Linked DNA regions of Homo sapiens: region 2 is linked to region 1. Evidence: promoter capture Hi-C in 16 types of primary human blood cells and fetal thymus (Javierre and others, 2016). All regions are on one chromosome and are shown on one strand. Each heading gives the region's core, a stretch centred on a gene start or on the middle of the fragment in contact. The rest is flanking DNA. Distances are from core to core; before and after follow the strand shown. Region 1 holds the start of CDHR2 (cadherin related family member 2). Region 2 overlaps FAF2 (Fas associated factor family member 2).

What was found. Contacts are between HindIII fragments. The CHiCAGO score rates a contact against its expected background, and 5 or more counts as called.
Region 2: a contact is called between a fragment that was not itself captured here and the fragment with the promoter of CDHR2 in region 1, in 1 of 17 cell types (non-activated CD4 T cells). The highest score is 5.6, in non-activated CD4 T cells.

What each region holds. Positions count from the first base shown.
Region 1 is chr5:176,547,962-176,550,661 of GRCh38, forward strand. It overlaps CDHR2 (cadherin related family member 2), which reads left to right and starts at 1,381. Exons shown (of 32, transcript NM_017675.6): 1 at 1,381-1,453. RefSeq lists an enhancer at 1,653-2,586. The HindIII fragment of the contact is 9,099 bases long and covers 1-1,530 here.
Region 2 is chr5:176,474,290-176,476,989 of GRCh38, forward strand. The region is part of intron 1 of FAF2 (Fas associated factor family member 2); the gene reads left to right. Among named protein-coding and RNA genes, the nearest start is that of FAF2, 27 kb to the left of the region's middle. The HindIII fragment of the contact is 1,631 bases long and covers 441-2,071 here.

The DNA of each region.
Region 1 (2,700 bases), core at 131-2,630:
CAGGCAATTTCGTCATTGTGTGAACATCACACAGTGACTTACACAAACCTAGGCGGTACCACCTACTACACACCCAGTCTCTATACCACCGCCTGTGCTCCTGGGCTGCTAACCTATGCAGCCTGGGACTGTACCGCACGCTGCAGGCAACTGTAACACAGGGGTAAGTATTTGTGCATGTAAACACAGAAAGGGTGCCATGAAAGATGATATTATACTCTTATGGGACCGCTATTATATGTGTGGTTCGTTGTTGACCAAAACACAGATATATGGTGCATGACTATATATCTATTGTGAATTAGACATGTCCTCTGCCCACAAGAAGAGGGCCACCCAATGGTGACGACTCAGTGGTGTGCCTTAAGAAAGTTGTGCCCAGGGTCCCCTTTCTGTGTCAACTGTGATGGCTGGGCCAAAGTGAGGATAAGAAGGACTTGTGGCTGAGCCCCTTCGGGAGGCCACCACATCGGGCAGCGCTTAAAGCCAGCCTGGGGGCCGAGCTCCGTGGCTCATCCCTGTAATCCCAGCATTTTGGAAGGCCGAGGCAGGCGGATCGCCTGAGGTTAGGAGTTCGAGACCAGCCTGGCCAACATGGTGAAACCCTGTTTCTACTAAAAATACAAAAAAAATTAGCCGGGTGTGGAGGCCCACGCCTGTAATCCCAGTTACTCGAGAGGCTGAGGTAGGAGAATTGCTTGAACCCAGGAAGCAGAGATTGCAGTGAGCCAAGATTGTGCCACTTCACTCCAGCCTGGGTGACAGAGCAAGACTCTGACTCAAAAATAAATAAATAATTAAAAAAAAAAGGCAACTTGGGAGTGGATGAAGCCCCTGGGGACGGGCAGATGCCTTTTGAGGGTCTCAATGCGGGGTGAGATCAGTGTCAACAGGCTCGAAAGTGGGTTGTCCAGGCTCAGCTAGCCCCCAGTCCTCCACGAGAACCTCACAGGGGCTGGTCTGGCCACACAGTGTTTGATTGTTACACTGTTTTACCACTTCCCTCTCCTGACTCAATCCCCCACTTGTCCACAGATCCCCTGTCACTGAAGACTCGTAGCAGGGAGGGGACGGGGGCTCTGGCATCACCTTCTGACTGTCACCGTCCCCGCCTCCAGCCTGCCCCAGTGTTGGGCCTTGTTCCCAGGTCCTCTGGGCTCAGGGTCGGCCAGGCCCCTTCTCCTGTGGTGTGGGCCTCCAGCCCCAGGAGCGCCAGGAGCTCTGGCGCCTTGGTCCCTTCCTCCTGTCCGGCGCCCCCAGCTGTACTCTGCCTCATTAGGAGTCGACCCCTCCTGGGAGGTGTGGTCTCTGGCAGGGTTAATGATTGCTCAGTGGAGGTGGAGATGGTGCCAAAGTCTGCTGGCCACATAGCTGCAGGCCGCAGAGGGTGCCCACCTGTGTGCCAGCGCCTGTCCGGCGCCTGCCTGCCGCCTCCGTGGCGAAGGGGACACAGGTAGGGACTATCCAGCTCATCGGGGGTCTCTGGGCCAGAGAAATGTGGGGGTTGGGGGGATCCCTAGAGCCAAGGCAAGCTTGGGGGTCTTTAAAAGTCTCCCCTGAAGCTGGGCAGGGGAAGTCACACGCTAGATGGGGCAGAGCCGGGTCAGGTCCCAGCCTGCTGTGAGGCCTGTTTCTTTGGTAAACATGGGATAATAATACCTCCTTCCCTGGGGGCTGATGGCCCCCTTCCCATCCAAGTCCTCAAGGGATGATTCTTCAGAGGATGGAAGGGAGGCAGGCACCCCAGGGAAACGAGGTAACTGGCCTGACCCCTTCATAGGATGCTCAGGGGTTGAGGACGGGGAAGCTGACCTGGGCTCTTACCCCAGCTGCTCGGTTCACATCCCAGCTCCACCCTGACCTTGGTGGGCTACTTAACTCTTCTGGGCCTCCGTTTCCTCATTTATCAAATGGGGATGAGAAGAGTTCCAGAAAGGGCCTGAAAAGCCCTGAGGCAAAGGTGAGCATGTGGCCTATGACCGAGCCCAGTGCCACCTCAGCCAGTGCTAGGAAGTGTCAGGCAGGGACTGACCCAGGCTGGCCCCAGCTCTGCCCAGTCCGGGCCTTGCACATCTCTCTGCCCTGGTAGAGGAGGTGGTGACCCAGCTGAGAGTCGGGGCCATGCTGCGTCACTCAGGCAGGCCTGTGCTGGGTTGGGCACCAGGCACAAGGCAGGGTCCCAGTGAGCACCGAGGTCCGGCAGATGGAAACAAGTCATGGCCCGTGTGTAGACCCCTTGATTTTTATCCTCACTCTGCTTCTCAGCAGGGGAAACTGAGGCCTGGAGAGGGGAGAGGGCTTGCCTGGGGTTGCACAACAAATATGTGAAATGCTGCCATCTGAACCCAGGGCTGTTTGAGTCTGTATGTGTCTGCTGGGCCAGGTGGCCTGGGCCATAGGCACTGGGAGGGCCCGTGGCGGGGAGCTGCGTGCTCAGGTCCCACATCCTTGCTCCGGGCACCCAGGCTCGGCTGGAGTCCGCTCTGTGGGTGCAGGCACGGCCTCCTGGATCAACGGAGCCCAGACCAAGGCTTGCCCAGGGACCCCTGGATTTGGAGGCAGCCTGGGTCTAACCTGCTGCCCCTGGCTCACCCATCTCTGGGCATCTATGAGCCTCGGTTTCCTTGGAATAATAGGATAGGATAATTCCTGCTTGGGAACAGCTGTGAGAAGTAAATGAAAAAGCAGAAGTGAAAGTGC
Region 2 (2,700 bases), core at 6-2,505, 74 kb before region 1:
TTTACTTAATTGTTCAAATCTGGGATACATATGCAGATATAGTGGCTTCAGAATACGTATTCCCATGGAGAAAAACCTTATCAAGTAGAGAACAGTGCTTAAGTGTAGTTCCTGTTGCCTTTAGTCTTATAGACTTCATTTCCAAAGTTTCTTAGCACCCCCCTTCCCCCTTTGGTGAGGTTGTTTCACATATTTTCTAGACAATTAGATTCTTTTGTCAAAGTCTGTGTTCCATCCGGAGAGCCTCTGATCTCTTAAATGATTTTTTAAATTTACATACATTAAGGTTCACTCTGCTGTAAAGGTCTGTGGGTTTTTATCTGTCTCACAGTTTTTGCATATGTTGGCCTTCTGCCTGGAATACTCTTCCCAGATATTTCCCCATGACTGGCCCCTTATCTTTCATTCAGATCTCTGCTCAAATATTATCTCCTTGAGGAAGCTTTCCTTGAGCACCCAATCTAAAGGAATCTTCTAGAACAAAATGAAAATTTTGTTAGTGTATTTTCTTCAGTATGTGTGGTTTGTTTTGACCAGTCTCCATTTACTAGGATGAAAATTTAAACAGGGCAGGGACTGTATCTGTATCCTGGATATATAGTGAATGTATGTTGATATATGAATGAATAATCCTGTCCCAGGTGTGTCCAGCATCACTTATTTCTAGGGCATAGTTTTAGTACTGATCAGTAGTAATTGAAAGCAGGCTTGTTCAGTTGGGTTTCCAGCTCACCCTGCTTCACTACTTAAAAAGTGTTTTGGTTATAAATTAGGTTAAGTGTTTCAGTATATTAAAGATGGCAGTCACTCTGTTCTCTCCTGCAATGTTTATAACCATTTATTTAAGGTTATTATTATTATTATTGAGATGAGGTCTCTCTGTTGCCCAAGTTGGAGTGCAGTGGCGCAGTTTACTGCAGTCTTGACCTCCTCAGGCTCAGGTGATCCTGAATAGATGATCCTTCTTGAGTAGCTGGGACTACAGGCGCACCACCACACCCGGCTAATTTTTTTTGTATTTTTTATAGAGATGGAGTTTCTCTATATTGGCCAGGCTGGTCTTAACTCCTGGGCTGAAGTGATCCACCCACCTTGGCTTCCCACAGTGCTAGGATTGCAGGTGTGAGCCACTGTGCGTAGCCTAAAAGTTACTTTAGTGAGGGATTTATAATCTCTATTCCTACTTAGAATTACATATCAATACCAGCCGGGCACGGTGGCTCACGCCTGTAATCCCAACACTTTGGGAGGCCGAGGCGGGTGGATCACCTGAGGTGAGGAGTTCGAGACCAGCCTGGTGAAACCTCGTCCCTACTAAAAATACAAAAACTAGCCAGGCGTGGTGGCAGCCACCTGTAATCCCAGCTACTTGGGGAGCCAAGGCAGGAGAATCACTTGAACCCAGGAGGCGCAGGTTGCAGTGAGCCGAGACCGTGCCATTGCACGCCAGCCTGGGGGACAAGAGCGAGACTTCGTCTAAAAAAAAAAAAAAAGAATTACTATCAATACCACGGATTTCCCAGCTCGGCTGTACATTAGAATCAGCTGAGGAGCTTTAAGAACAAACACTGCTTCCTGAGCTCTTTCCTGACTTACTGATTTTCAGGAAAATTCTACAAATTTGTAATGTTTTAACAACCAGCTTGGCATCTAGTCAGAACATTTGAAGTTAAAAAACCCCAGTAACCAGGTATGGTGGCTCACGTGTATAATCCCAACACATTGGGAGGCCAAGGCGGGAGGATCGCTTGAGCCCAGGAGTTCAAGGCCAGCCTGGGCAACATGGTGAAATCCTGTCTCTACCCAAGAAAAATAGAAAAATTAGCCAAGTGTGGTGGCGCACACCTGTGGTTCCAGCTGCTCGGAGGCTGAGATGGGAGGATCATTTGAGAGCGGGAGACAGAGGTTGCAAGTGAGCCAAGATCGTTCCACTGCACTCCAGCCTGGACAACAGAGCCAGACAGAACCTGTCTTAAAAAAACAAAGCAAAACAAAAAAAACAGTGTATTAATGTAAAGTGAGATTTTGTGATAATATCTAGAGGATTTCAGCTTATAGCTATGATGACTGAAGCTTATACAAAAAGGTCCTTTTAACTTGGACTGATTCTTCTACGATTTAAGCCCATAGTGTGTGCCTGGTACTAGTGAATATTACAGTGAATTGTTCCCTGCTCTCAGAGAACTTACATTACACCCTCTGAGAAGGCAATAGAATGAATGTAAATAATCATAAGATAGGAAACAATAGGCACATAAGAGACGTAGAAAACAATTTTGGTATTTAGAGGAGGGAGCAGTCATTTGCACACTGGGGAAGATGGTAAGATTAGAGTCCCTTTTTTTTTTTTTTTTTTTTTTTGAGATGGAGTCTCGCTCTGTCACCTAGGCTGGAGGGCATTGGCATGATCTCGGCTCACCACAACCTCTGCCTCCTGGGTTCAAGCGATTCCCCCACCACAGCCTCCCGAGAGTATCTGGGACTACAGGCACGCAGCACCACCATGCTGAACTAATTTTTTTTTTTTTTTTTTTTTTTGAGATGGAGTCTTCCTCTGTCACCCAGGCTGGAGTGCAGTGGCGCTATCTCAGCTCACTGCAAGCTCCACCTCCCTTGTTCACGCCATTCTCCTGCCTCAGCCTCCTGAGTAGCTGGGACTACAGGCGCCCACCACCATGCCCGGCTAATTTTTTGTATTTT